Linked DNA regions of Homo sapiens: all the other regions are linked to region 2. Evidence: promoter capture Hi-C in 16 types of primary human blood cells and fetal thymus (Javierre and others, 2016). All regions are on one chromosome and are shown on one strand. Each heading gives the region's core, a stretch centred on a gene start or on the middle of the fragment in contact. The rest is flanking DNA. Distances are from core to core; before and after follow the strand shown. Region 1 holds the start of FBL (fibrillarin). Region 2 holds the start of HNRNPL (heterogeneous nuclear ribonucleoprotein L). Region 3 holds the start of RPS16 (ribosomal protein S16).

Region 1 (4,578 bases), core at 799-3,298, 1.0 Mb before region 2:
CACCTCCACCACTAATTACTTACCGATAGAGCCAATTTCAGGTCTTCAGAGCAAGCTAGCAGGCAAAGTATCTCAGAAGCAGGAGATGGTGCCAGGATTCCAAGAAATAGGGCTGGAATCCCCTAAATCTGCACTGCACTCTGAGTACTTTTGTCCTTTAGAAGAAAAATATTAATTAGAAGGCAAATAGTAAAATCCATGTGAAATAGGTAACATTATCCGGAATTGGACCCACTGGAATCATTGCACATCTAGAAATCCAGAATAGACTCAACTATTTCATCTCATAGTTTTTAAAAAGTTTTTTTTGTTTGGTTTTTGTTTTTGTTTTGGGACAGGGGTGTCGCTCTGTGACCCAGGCTGGAGTGTAGTGGTGCAGTCATGGCTCATTTCAGCCTAGACCTACTGGGCTCAAAGGATCCTCCTGCCTCAGCCTCTTGAGTAGCTGGGACTACAGGTGCAAGCAACCATACCCAGCTAATTTTTTATTTTTTGTAAAGATAAGGTCTCACTCTGTAGCCCAGGCTGGCCTTAAGCTCCTGGGCTCAAGCGATCCTCCTGCCTCGGCCTCCCAAAGTGCCTGGATTACAGGTGTGAGCCACTGCCCCGACCGGTTCTGAAAAGTTTAAGCAGATTTTCCATCATAATATCTAAACAATCTTTCAGGAATGTTTCTGTGCAAATTGGTGGCATTCCACAGCTGGAACACTGTACACAGAGAACTCACAACGGTATGAGGCCATCCATTCATTCAACAAACATTTACTGGGCACCCAGAGGGCTGTCCTAGGCCTAGAGTGATAGAGCAGTGAATGGAACAGAGTCAACATCTAGGCTCTGGACTGGTAGGTTCTTCTGGAGTTTTTCGGTAACTTCTCATAACAGCAGTTGTCTTGCTTTGCAGAATGAATATAGGGATGGATACTGATATTACACAATTACAAAGCCCAAAATTCTTAATACTTAAGCAGAATCTGTTGACCCCTGACGCCGCTCTCTGCCCCCACTCTGATCTGTCCATCCTTTTCTTCTGATTCACGGCAGCAGCCAGTCCTTGGTTTTCCTGCTTTCACCCTCACTCCTGCAGTCTGCTTCCCACATGCAGCCAGAGGGACCTGTGTCAGATCACATTCCTTCTCTGCTTGGAACCCTTCCATGGTTCCATCTTACTGCCTAAGTCCTCACTATGTCCCACAAAGCTCCGCACAATCTGCCCTTGTTAGCTACCCGCCCTTATCTCCTCTTACTCTCCACCTTGCTCACTTTGCCCCACCCACCCTCCTCATTGTCTCTCCAACTTCCCATATCTTTCCTTCCTCAGGGCCTCTGCATCTGCAGATCTTTTCCCTGCCTGGAACTCTCTTCCCCTAGATAGGTGCATGCCTCACTCCTCACTTCCTTCAGCCCTTTAGCTCAAAAGTCTCCTGATGCATTCCTTGACCACCGTGCCAAAAAAACAAAAATCATTTGCCCTCCAAAATCTCTATCCCCTTTCCCTGCTGTTATTTTCTCCAAAGCACTTATCGCTTTCAAACATTCAACATGTTTGGTGTCTATTTCCTCCATTAAAAAGATGAACTCCAGGAGAGTGGAGATTTTTATGTCTCGTACACCGCTGTATTCCCAGCTCCTAGAACAGCACCTGGTACACACGAGGTGCACTGTAAATGTTTTTCGGATGTTTGAATGGAAGCCCAGAGTCGGTCACTGTTCTTGGGGCTGGAAATGTATTGGGGAAGCCTTTTTGGGTGTACAGGGGCCAGAGGGATTTAGCTAGGAATACAAAAGAGGGCACAGCCCGTGCGAAGGCTATGAGCCCTGATTATTGGGGTGCTCGCATTGGGGAAGAGGAAACCGGAAGCGAGTTTAGGGCGACCGCTGCACAGGCAAAGGCTGGGAAGGCAGAGAGCGAGGGCAGCGGGTTGCGTGTCGACAGGCTCGAGAATCCAGGCTCACTGCGCGTGCGCCGAGCTCCGGGCGGGGAAGGGGCCCGGGGGCGGGACTACGGGGTGGCGTCACGCAGCGCACGTCGCCGCGCGCCTGCGCTCTTTTCCACGTGCGAAAGCCCCGGACTCGTGGAGTTGTGAACGCCGCGGACTCCGGAGCCGCACAAACCAGGGCTCGCCATGAAGCCAGGTCAGGCTGGGGTGAGGGTCCGGGGTCAGGGACGGAGGCCGGGCGGGAATCCGGGTGCCAGGCCAGAATCGGAGGGGTGGGGCCTTGGCCTGGGGGCAGGGGTTCTGAGCACGGGTTCCAGTCTCCTGTGGGAAGGGGGATTCTGATTCCAGCAGGTCTAGGGGTTTGTGACTGGCTTCAGAGGTCACGGTCGTGAGTCGAAGAAGGCCGTGGGCCTGGCATTGGGGGTGTTGACGTGGGGTTCGTCTCATTGAGGCCGTCTAATAGGGATTTTGGATATTGGGCAGGAGGCGGCACTCAAGGGTCTTGGGCTAGAGTTTGGATTCAGGCATCTGGAGTCTTGGATCGCTGGGCGTGTTTTGGGAATCAGGCTTGGGTCGGAGATGGAGAGTTCCTGACCTTGGGTCCTGGAGCTGTGTGTGGGAAGCCCCCATTTGCCTTCCCTGTCGCTGCCACCACCACCATCCCCTTATCCCGCATCCCAGCTTTTCCGAGTGGGCCGGAGTGGATGAGGACTCCCCGGTTGGCCGTGTGCGGCGCTCTTCGGCTCACTTTCCCGCCTTCTGCACTTACAGTGGGGCGGATCCCCGGGGATGGAGTGGAGATTTGGGGATTAAGATTTCCACCTCCGGGACGAGACTTAACAAGCTCGGCATTAGTCTGGGGTGGTGGGGCGGGTGGTTGTCACAGGAGGTAAGTAGTTTTATTCTTAAGATTTTCCACTAGATTCTGCTGAAACCACTCCCTTCATGGTGGAATGATGAGGGGGTCCTGGCTTTGACAGCAGAAGGGCCTCAGTTCAGTGTGTCAGCTCTTGCTCAGCTTCTTAGCCTGCTGTGTGAACTTGGGCAAGTGGCTTTACCTCTCTGAGCCTCTGTTTTCTCATCAATAAAATGGCGCCAGTTAGGATTAAGCGACGTTAAAAAAAATAGCACAGTGCTTGACATATAATAGTATTAGCTCTAATTGTTACCTTTATCTTTCTCAAAGAGAACAACATTAGAATCCTTCTCGGTGGTGCCTGAGCACTTCCTCCATCTGGCCTGCCCAACCCGCACTCATCTGTGTGAGAACTTGCTTCATTGAGTTTGGAGAATTTCCACCATGGCCCAAAGGGTCTGTTTTCCTAGTACAGGCTTTCTTTTTCTTTTGTGTGTGTGTTTGTGTGGAGAGATGGGGGTCACCTGGCAGGAGATTTGTGGATCTGTGCCCTTCTCCCAAGTTCCCTTTCTCTTCCGTGTTTGGGGATCTCTTGATGAAGTGGGGTGGGGGATTGTAGGCCAGGTATGCTGAGATCCTGGCTTGCCTGCAGGCATTCTGGTCTGTGATTCCCTCATAAATGGAGGATACCCGTTCTTCCAACCTTCCTCCATGTGTGGTAGAATGTGAAGTTGTAAAAGTTGTCAGGTGTTAGCTCTTTAGTAAGGATTTTAGCCTGAGTGAGAAAAGAACCCTTTGGGAGATTTTTGAGCAGGGGCGTGGTGCAGTCTGACATTTTTAAAAGGGATTCTTTTTGCTTCGATGTGTGAAAGACCTCAGGGTGGCAAAAGTGGAAGCAGGCACATTGGTGGGAAGCTTGTTGCTGTAATCTAGGAGATGGTGTGGTGGACCAGGATGGGAGCAGTGGACATGCTGACAGTTTTACATGCTTTTGAAGACAGAACCAACAGATTGTATGTGGGTGTGTGATCGGAGTCAAGGATAACCAAGGGTTTGGGGGTGTGTAACTGGAAGGATGGAATTGCCATTTTTGAGATGGAGAAGGCTGTGGAAGGAGAGCAGATTTTAAATCAGGGGGTTTATGGACCCCCCTCCCCCCAAAAAAAGAACTTACTGGAAAAGTTTGTGTGAACATGTGTTTTTTCTGAGGACTGGGTACTTTTGGTACATTTTCCCCCAAAAGCTCCAGGACCTGAAACGGATTGAGATGTTTTGAGTATCTGGGATTGAAAGTTTACACTCATGCCCACTCCGCCCCAAGCACATGCCAGTACTTCCTTTCTGTTAGGCCTGGGTTGAGACTTTCATAAGCCTAGCTGTGGCATCTCCCCTAAATGAAGGTCTTGGCTTTGGAAAACTGTTGGAGGGCTTGGGCAAGAAAATTGAGATCTGAGTTGCTGTTTCAAAAACAGCACTTATTAGTTGCTGTGTGGAAAGTGGACTGTAGGGGGAGTAGAACATTAAAAAGTGAACAACTCTTAGTTATGTTCTAGAGTTTTGAAAAGGAAACTTCATTTTAAAAGATCAAATTAGGAGTAGCTATTAAAAGTTACATTTTCATCTTTAATAGAAAGATGAAAAAAGAACTAACTGGAAAAGTTTGTGTGAACATGTGTTTTTTCTGAGGAATGGGTACTTTTGGTACATGAGGAGGGAAGAGGAGACGCGTACCCCTGAGTTTGAATGATGATGTTCAAAGTAGGTGCCAGATAGTATATATGT
Region 2 (4,866 bases), core at 1,679-4,178:
TTTCCTAAGGCCAGAGACAGTAAATGCAGCTTCCACGTTGGAACCCCGGTAGGGTGGCTCCAGTCCCCTGCTCTGAACCCCCCATCTCTACAGCCTACCCCATCACCCTAATAAGCCCTGCAAGTGCAGTGGTGATGCGTCTGCTCCGGCGTCAGACCAGCCCCGCCATGCCACTTGCAAGCTGTGGCATCCTGGGTTAGTCACTTGCGTCCCTCCAGCCCATTTCCTTATGTGAGCAATGTACACCCCAAACACTTGCCTCAGCCAAGACACTTGCCTGACCAGGAGGAAAGATGCGCGAGTCTCAAACAACTGCGTGACTTTCCGTCTGCGGGGGGCGGGGGTGGATTTTTGGGGAAAAGGGACGCGGAGCCCGAACACCGCGGCTCCAAGGTCTTCCCGCTCCTTTCTCGCCTGGTTTCCTCCATTCCCCCGCGGGGCGACCCTCGGTCTCCTGCCGTGTCCCCGCTCCCGCGCCCCCTGCCCCCAATTTTTCTTCCCCCCACGGGGCTGAAAAAAGGTCGTGGTCCCTTTAAGGCCCGCCCCTCCCTCTCCCAAAACTTCCCAGTGTCTGCTCTTTTCGATCCGGGACGGCCGGTCAGGCTCGCCGCCGAGCTGGTAGGGGCTGGGGGCGAGGGGTGCGGGAAGGTGACCGGGGCACTGGCGGGCGGCGCCGCGCGCGGCCGGGGGCCAGGGTCCGAGCAGCGGGGTGGGGGCGGGGCGGTGGCCGGGAGCGCGGGGGGTGCGGGTCACCAGGCCGGGCCGGCGGCCTGGAACGTGCGGCGCCGGGGAGACCGTTCCGCCGTGCTCCGGCCGTGCGCGCCGGCGCGAGGGGCGTCCGGGCCGGCCGCGGGGGCGGGGAGGGGAGGGGCCCTCTCTCTCCCCCTCCCCCCACCGCATTCCTCTGACGTTGGGACGGAGCGACCCCGCCCTTCGTCGCGACCGGCCCGGCCTCCTCCCGTCACGCGGGCCACGTGCTTCAGACGCGGCCCCGCCCCCGTCTCTGTTCCGTTGGCGTGGTCGGATCTTCCTGGTGTCCGGGGGAGCTGACCGAGGTCCCCAGCAAGGCCCCCTCCCCTAACTTTATTTCCCCTCACCGGCAGAGCCACCAGGCCTGTCCCCTCTTGTATTGCCATAAACCCCATTTTTTCTGATAGGGTCTCGCTCCGTCGCCCACGCTGGAGTGCAGGGGCGCGATCACGGCTCACTGCAACCTCGAAATCCGGGGCTCAAGCGAGCCTTCCGCCTTGGCCTCCCCAAGTGCTGGGATTACAGGTGTGAGCCACCACACACGGCCTCCATTTCAAACTTAGTTTCCACCCGGACCTCAACTCGAAATCCCCCATCAGCCGGGCAGAAAGGTCCTGGAGCACTTTTGGGGCGTCCGCCGCGTTTCTCACGACGCTAGCTTCGCTTTTATTTCTTTTCCCCCCTTTGGCGATATCGTCACTTGCCAATAGCTTCGCTAAGGTGTTCCCCCCCACACCCTGCGCGGGCAGCCCCATAATGTTAAATGCCGTAGGACGGGATCCCGGGTTAATCCCCGTTTGACCCCGCTGCCTGCGCGTGATAACTGGGGCGCGCTCCTCTCCACCCCCCAGGCTCCGCCAGTTGGGCTTCGCCGGAGTCTGGAGATACCCTCCGACATTCTCTTGGTGCAGTGCGGGTGGTCTTACCCCGCCCTTGAGGAAGAAAGGCCCGACGCAGGCACAGATCACAAGAACGCCTCCCCTGTGCAGGGGGCTTGCACTGTGCCAGGTGCTGTACTGGGCGCTTGGTAGGTGGCCACCCTCTCCAGGGTCGGGGCCAGGACCTCCTGTGGTGCTCAGAGGGGTCGAGCTGTCAGGTGAAAACCACTGGCCCGAGTTATGGCTTTGAAGGGAATCCTGGGGGTCTGGGATGGCAGGGACCTGTTAATTTAGATCGCACGGACAAGATGACTTGGCCCTTAGCTCCTGCAGGAGGGGTAGTGGACTATTGCAGGTGGAAGGGACTGCATGGGCACACATGGAGAGTGCGCGGAAGAGCCTTCTCCCAAGGGAAACTGAAAGGGGTTGCGGCTGAATTTAGAACTGGACAGGGTCCGAAGACAGTCGGCAGCAGCGAGTGGTTTTCTACTGAGGAAAAGGCTCAGATTTGGGATTTTAACAATTCCTCCTAGAGGTAGAAATGAACACGGTATAGTGATGGCGACAGAGATACCCTGGGAGTTCCTGTCAATCTTGGTCTAGCCTTCCGGCGCACACACAGCGGTCGCTCCATAAGGGGGCCCCGCCTCTGGGCGGTGCCTGAAAGCGTATTTGCGCATGCGTTCTCGCCTTCGCTCGTTTCGTATACTGCACCAAAGAGCGCCTACCCTGGGGCGGGGCTCCCCATTTCATCCAATCAGAGCGTATCAACAGTCCTACCATCTGGTGAGAGGGTGCGCTCCACTCTCCATTGACCAATCAGTGGAGACGCAGAAGAATGGGCATCTGTAACCACCACTGGAGAGAGACCAAAAAAGGGCGGGGCTTCCTTGTCTCCTTGCGAAGTGGCGCGGGAAGGTCGTCATTGTGACTGGTGCTGACGGATTAGCGAGGAGACCAATGAAAGTGGGAGGGAGGCGGAGATTCTTGGGAGGTTTAGAGCGCCGTTCCTATCAGGTGCTTTTAGGGAGGCCAGCAGCGCCAGAAATCCGACCTATCAAATTGGATTTTATTTTAAGGCGGCGGGGTCGACGGAAAGACTGGCAGAAAGCGACCACCTATAAGGAGTGTCTCAGACAAACAAGGGCGGGCCCTCCTGCAGAACGGCGTGGGCAATGTCCAATAAGCGCGCAAGGCGTGTGGCGGCCTACCCTCCCCCCGCGGCGGGACCAGTGGCTCCCCCTATCGGGTGGGGGCGGCGGGTGACGGGCGTGTCCCTCCCCCAATGAGAGGCGGGGGGAGGCGGGTTCTGCGCCGCCATGTCGCGGAGGCTGCTGCCCCGGGCGGAGAAGCGGCGTCGGCGGCTGGAGCAGAGGCAGCAGCCGGACGAGCAGCGGAGGCGGTCGGGAGCGATGGTGAAGATGGCGGCGGCGGGCGGCGGAGGCGGCGGTGGCCGCTACTACGGCGGCGGCAGTGAGGGCGGCCGGGCCCCTAAGCGGCTCAAGACTGACAACGCCGGCGACCAGCACGGAGGCGGCGGCGGTGGCGGTGGAGGAGCCGGGGCGGCGGGCGGCGGCGGCGGTGGGGTGAGGCCAGGGCCCTAGGCGCTGGGAAGGCCGGGAACTGGGGGACAATTTCCCAGCTTGAGGGCATTTTATTTTTTGAGGGGGGCCTCTGCGCACGCGCCCAGGCCATCGCGTCGTTGACGGTGTGGGGGAGGGGCGGCCGTTGGGCAAACGGCGGGGTTTGCGCGAGGACAGGCGCCTGCGCGTGCGCGGGGTCCGGAGCGGGGTGTGGGGGAGCGCAGAGGAAGTAGCTCGTGAGGCGAATGGCCCAGTGCGCAGGCGCCGCGGGCTGGCGTGTGGGGGCCGGGCACGCGGCCCGGCCGGTTTTTTTCCCCTTTATCATTTTCTTCGCTGGCTCCATGCGCAGGCGCAGTGTTCCCGCCCGGCCTCGTGGGCGGTTAGGGGAGCGCCTGGTGAGCGGGAACGGGTGGGCGGCGGCCTTGTTCTCTAGAGTGGGGAATTCCGTCTGATGGCAGCTTAATCTCTAAGGCCCAGCCTTGTGTCTATACAGAAATGGATGTGTTTGAGCCTAGATGCTCTCATTTTTGTAGGCATTGAAAATGGGAAGAGGACTTGTGAAATGCACTTTTAGCCTTTTAGGAGTTGAGCGAAGCCTTGAAACCATCACAAGTTTGCTTACAGTTTCCGGGGATTCACTGGGTACCGAGGATTTGATAAACCAAACTATTTCCTGGCCATGTTGGAAGCATTTCGACCCCCTGTAATCAGTCCCTCCGAAAACACCAGTCGTTGCTTTTGGAGTGGGGCCCAGTCCCCACTCTTTCCAAAATCTTGAAGTCTTACAGGGCCGCCTATTTGCAGGGTTTTCCAGGGTTTAGGGGTTACGAGTTGCTAGCGTTTTAATCTTGGCCTTGTCCCACACATTTTAAAGACATCTTAATTGAAAATCCTTAACGCTTCCTGAGGTTGGGGGAGATACTGGGATTCCCGATTTACAAAGGAGGAAATGGGCCAGGAGAGAGATGAGATGAGGTGAATTACTGTAGGTGGCACAGCTAGTGAGGGGCAGGGCTGGAGTTAGAACTCCCATTTGTGGGAGCTGCTAACCTGGCGGGAGTGCCTCACCCTGTGGTTCGCGTGGATCGCTCCTGAAATAGAATCCAATTCTACCCACCTTCCACGCACTTCTGCCCAGTGATTCTCAGACAGGGGGCCGGCCCCAGAGCCCAGGAGAGGCGGAAGAGAGTTAATCTTTCTCCTGATGACCAGAGGCTTTTGTCGGTGGGTGTAAGATACTTCTCTTAGGAAGGAGCAGTCGGTTCTTAATGGTATGGGTTGGAGTCTCTGGTCTTTCTAAAAGACTTTCCATCCGGGAGTGGGGGCTCATGCCTATAATCCCAGCACTTTGGGAGGCTGAGGCAGGCAGATTACCTGAGGTCAGGAGTTCGAGAACAGCCTGGTCAACATGGCAAAACTCCGTCTCTACTAAAAATACAAAAAAATTAGCCAGGTGTGGTGGCGAGGGCCTGTAATTCCAGCTACTCGGGAGGCTGAGGCAGGAGAATCGCTTGAACCTGGGAGGCGGAGGTTGCAGTGGACTAAGATCACGCCATAGCACTCCAGCCTGGGTGACAGAGTGAGACTCCATCTCAAAAAATAAATAAAAGACTTTTCTTGTCTGGTTTTTCTTAGTCTGACCTAGGCAGTAATTT
Region 3 (4,535 bases), core at 1,440-3,939, 590 kb before region 2:
GTGCTAGCCTTTATCTGTGTCTGCAAGTGAATATTTGAGGTCTCTGCTCTATTTATTTTATTTTATTTATTTATTTTTGAGACAGAGTTTATTTATTTATTTATTTTTGAGACAGAGTCTTGCTCTGGCGCCCAGCCTAGGGTGCAGTGGCGACATCTCAGCTCACTGCAACCTCCGCCTCCCGGGTTCAAGCGGTTCTCCTGCCTCAGCCTCCCTTGTGGCTGGGATACAGGCACCTGCCACCATGCCCAGCTGATTTTTGTATTTTTAGTAAAGGCGGGGTTTCACCATGTTGGCCAGGCTGGTCTTGAACCCTGGGCTCGAGTGATCCTGCTGCCTTGGCCTCCCAAAGTGCTGGGATTATAGGTGTGAGCCACTGCACCTGGCCTCTGTCTCAAGTATTTTGGAAACATCATGCCTGCCTTTATCTCTTTTTTGTCTGAGGGTTGGCCTCTCTGCCTCTAAATCTGTCACTGGGCTTGTTTTGGGGGTCCATCTCTTGACTGTCCTGGTCTCTCCCTTTTCTCCTCCTCTTCTCCCTTGGCCTTTCATCTTTCTCTTCTTCTCCACTTGTGCCTACATTTCTTTGGGCTGTGTCTGTGTCCCTCCCGGTCAGCCTCTGGGTACTTCCTTCCTCCCTCCCAACAGCCCCCTCCCCCCTCACCCTTTTAGAGCTGGACTCCGGGCTGGCTTTTCCCTCTGGCCCCAGACCTGCCCTCCAGTGTCTCCCTGTCTCCACCCTCTTTGGCAAGGTGCACCACGACGCCCTTTTGAACCCTGGATCCCAGACCCTGTACTGCCAGAGAAACTGAGGCAACTGTGGGCTCCCTCTAGCTCTGAGAGAGGAACCTCTTCGCTGGGGAGACTCTTGATGGGGTGAGACGCAGGGACATCTGCCGGGGAACCAGAGGACAACCCAATCCTGGGGTTCCTCAGGTGGGGTTGGGGGGCTGGGGATGGAGAATTCTGTGGGGAGGAGGCTTAAGTGGAGGGTGATTTGGGGGAGAGGAAAAAGATGACTGGGAGATTCTGGAGAAAGAGATTCTAGGGGCTGGGCGCGGTGGCTCACGCCTGTAATCCCAGCACTTTGGGAGGCTGAGATGAGTGGATCATTTGATGTCAGGAGTTCGAGACCAGTCTGGCCAATATGGTGAAACCCCGTCTCTACTACAAATACAAAAATTAGCCGGGCGTGGTGGTGCATGCCTGTAATCTCAGCTACTCAAGAGGCTGAGGCAGGAGAATCGCTTTAACCGGGGAGGCAGAGGTTGCAGTGAGCAGAGATCATGCCACTGCACTCCAGCCTGGGCGACAGAGCAGGACTCTGTCTCAAAAAAAAGAAAAAAAAAAAACAAAAAACAGAGAGATTCGGCCGGGCGTGGTGGCTCACGCCTGTAATCCCAGGACTCTGGGAGGCTGAGGCGGATCACATCACCTGAGGTCAGGAGTTCGAGACCAGCCTGGCCAACGTGGTGAAACCCCATTTCTACTAAAAATACAAAAAACGACCAGGGCGTGGTGGTAGACGCCTGTAATTCCAGCTACTCGGGAGCCTAAGGCAGGAGAATCTCTTGAACCCGGGAGGCGGAGGTTGCAGTGAGACGAGATCGCACCACTGCACTCTAGCCAGGGCAACGAGCGAAACTCCGTCTCAAAAAAAAGAGAGAGATTCTAGGGTGGGGACGGGGAAGAGGTTAATTCTTGGGGGAGGGTCTCTTAGGAGAGGGGGATTCTAACGGAGGGAAAACTCCAGGGAAGGCAGTTGCTGGGAAGAGGAGTCTCGGAAGGGAAATAAACTCAGGAGAAAGGTAGATTTTGAGGGACGGGTCTCTGAGAGAAAAGTTTTTGTGGATTTGCGGGGCGGGGTGTTCTGGGAAAGGGGGATTTGCCGGGAAAGGGGGATTTGCCGGGAAAGGGAGATTCTGGAGGAGGGAGATTCCAGGGGTACTGGGTCCTGACAAGAGAAAGATTCTGGGAAGGGTGACTGAGGGGACGAGGACCGAATGGAGGGAGATTCAGGGAAAAGGGGGGTCTAAGTTGAGCACTCTTAAGAGGGACATTTGGGGTTGGCCATCTGAGAGAAGGATGGGAAACATTCTGGGAAGAGGAAACTGAAAGGAAGGACATTCTGGTGAAAGGGAGATTCTGAGGGGAAGGGGCTCTGAGGGGAAAAGGATTCTGGGAGAGGATCCCCAAGGAGGGGGATTCTAGGGAGGATAGGATTCTGGAAGTCCTTAATCTGAGAATCCAGCCAGATTTCTTGCAGTAGATTCCAAAGGAAGATTCTGATGCGGGGGATTCGGGGAGGAGGGAGTCCAGAGGGGAGAAAGATTACAGGTGTTGGGAGGGTGGGAACTGATTTAAAGAAAGGGCGAAGGGAGATTATTAAAGAGCCAGAATGCAAAGAAGAGCTGCGGTAGTCGACTACAGAGGACGCGAAGCACACTCCCGCAGCCTTCCCTTCAGTCCGCACACGACACTCCCAGGCCCCGCCCCTTCCGCCCACAGAGCCCGCCACTTCCGCCTCACAGGGCCCGCCCGCTCTGAGCGCCTAAGGGCCTTCCCGCCGCTGACCAGACGCCCCGCCCGTTAGCCGCAACAGAAGCCGTAAAGCTCTCTCCCGTCGCGACGCAGTGCTCAAGGCGCCTGCGCAGACCCTGAAAAGCGGCCAGGGTGGCCCCTAGCTTTCCTTTTCCGGTTGCGGCGCCGCGCGGTGAGGTTGTCTAGTCCACGCTCGGAGCCATGCCGTCCAAGGGCCCGCTGCAGTCTGTGCAGGTCTTCGGACGCAAGGTGAGCCAGACGCCGGATGGGAAGGGGAGGGGAAGGAGAAGGCCAGGGTCTGGGAGAGGTCGGTGGGCAGGAATCTAGGGGGTAACATGGGAGCTGGAGCCGGAGCTCACGGGGCCCCTGTTTCTCTTGTATCTTACAGAAGACAGCGACAGCTGTGGCGCACTGCAAACGCGGCAATGGTCTCATCAAGGTGAACGGGCGGCCCCTGGAGATGATTGAGCCGCGCACGCTACAGTACAAGGTGCTGGGATCCGGCACCGGCGTTGAGTGGATGGAGGACTCTTGGAGACAGAGATGTTGTAGCTCTTGAAAGCTGGGGGGGCTGGCATCAGCAACGGGATGTTTAGAAGTTGTGTTGGGTGTAGAACAGTGGGGTATTTGGCAATAGAGCTGGGCTTGGGGTTCAGAAGATGTAAAAGCTGAGATGGGGTTGTTGAAGATTAAGGGTTTGCTTTGAGAACTGGGATGTTAGGAAGCTCACCTCACTGGGGCGGGGGGACCCAAAGGGTGAAGGGACACCGACTATTTTTTATTTTATTTATTTGTTTTGAGAGGGAGTCTCGCTGTGTCGCCCAGGCTGGAGTGTAGTGGCGCGATCTCGGATCACTGCAACCTTCGCCTCCCGGGTTAAAGCGATTCTCCTGCCTCAGCCTCTTGAGTAGCTGAGATTACAGGCATGCACCACCACGCCCGGCTAATTTTTGTATTTTTAGTAGAGACGGGGTTTCGCCATATTGGCCAGAGTGGTCTCGAACTCATTACCTCAGGTGATCCACCAGCCTCGGCCTCCCGAAGTGCTGGGATTGCAGGCGTCAGCCACCGTGTGCGGCCGAATTTGGGTCTGTTTAAATGCTTGCTTGTAAAAGGGGTTCCTCTGTTCCCTTTTTGGGACTCTCAATTTCTTTGGCTCAGAATGGAAAGAAACCAGAGTCTGATTTCTGCCCCTTCTGAACTCTACTACTTTTAAAAGAAAGAATATCTACATTGCAGGGTCAGTTAAAAAAATTTTTTTTGAGTTATAAGGTTCTTTTTTAAAAACAGTATCTTGCTGTCACCTACCCTGGAGTGCAATAGCACAATCCTAATGAACTGCAGCCTTAAACTCCTGAGTTGGAGATCCTCCCACCTCAGCCTTTCGGTTGCCAAGACTACAGGCACATCACCACGCCTGGCTCATTTGAGAAATATTTTTCTGTAGACGTGGGGTCTCACTTTATTGCCCAGGCTGGTCCTTGGTCTCATGTGATCCTTCTGCCTGGACTGGGATTACAGGTGTGATCACCATGCCTGGCCTAGAATTTAATAAAAATTCTGAGATTTCCTTTGTGTAGCAGATGTTGAATGTTACTGTTATTGGCTGTCACTGTATTTGAAGGATTTGTATGTGTACCCTCTGTTGAGTTTTGGGGACATAGCAGTGATCCAGATGACTTAAGGTCTTGCCTTCATGGACCTGCCAGCCTAGTTGGGGAGAAGGACTGGGCCCAATACCAGAAGCTGATCCAAAGTGGTCAGAACTGGGGAAGGAGACCTGTGAGCTGAAAGCAGGTAAAGGAAGTATCCAGACAGAGGCACTGGTAAAAGACCTGGAGCTGGGAAGGGTCTAGGGACCAGGGACAGGTTGTACTGTAATTCTGGAAACCTGTGAGGCTCAAAGAAAGGGCAGAGAGCTCAGGTGGGAAATAGAAAAGGCACCTGAACAGTCCAGGGATGGCTTTCGACTACTTGAAACAGCCTTGGGAGTT

Evidence for each region. Contacts are between HindIII fragments. The CHiCAGO score rates a contact against its expected background, and 5 or more counts as called.
Region 1: a contact is called between the fragment with the promoter of FBL here and the fragment with the promoter of HNRNPL in region 2, in 1 of 17 cell types (neutrophils). The highest score is 9.1, in neutrophils.
Region 3: the fragment with the promoter of RPS16 here is called in contact with the fragment with the promoter of HNRNPL in region 2 in 1 of 17 cell types (neutrophils); the score reaches 6.2 in neutrophils.

Annotation. Positions count from the first base shown.
Region 1 is chr19:39,843,849-39,848,426 of GRCh38, reverse strand. FBL (fibrillarin) reads left to right here and starts at 2,048. Exons shown (of 9, transcript NM_001436.4): 1 at 2,048-2,136. The coding sequence starts at 2,127. RefSeq lists an enhancer at 2,503-3,243. The HindIII fragment of the contact is 4,240 bases long and covers 1-3,713 here.
Region 2 is chr19:38,848,048-38,852,913 of GRCh38, reverse strand. HNRNPL (heterogeneous nuclear ribonucleoprotein L) reads left to right here and starts at 2,928. Exons shown (of 13, transcript NM_001533.3): 1 at 2,928-3,214. The coding sequence starts at 2,948. RefSeq lists enhancers at 2,151-2,220, 2,551-2,640, 2,791-3,728, 3,801-3,890, 3,729-4,667 and 1 more and silencers at 691-1,070, 2,791-3,050, 3,061-3,600. The HindIII fragment of the contact is 20,955 bases long and covers 1-4,866 here.
Region 3 is chr19:39,434,103-39,438,637 of GRCh38, reverse strand. RPS16 (ribosomal protein S16) reads left to right here and starts at 2,689. Exons shown (of 5, transcript NM_001020.6): 1 at 2,689-2,790; 2 at 2,930-3,031. The coding sequence starts at 2,743. RefSeq lists enhancers at 484-1,252, 2,916-3,495 and a silencer at 2,436-2,535. The HindIII fragment of the contact is 27,347 bases long and covers 1-4,535 here.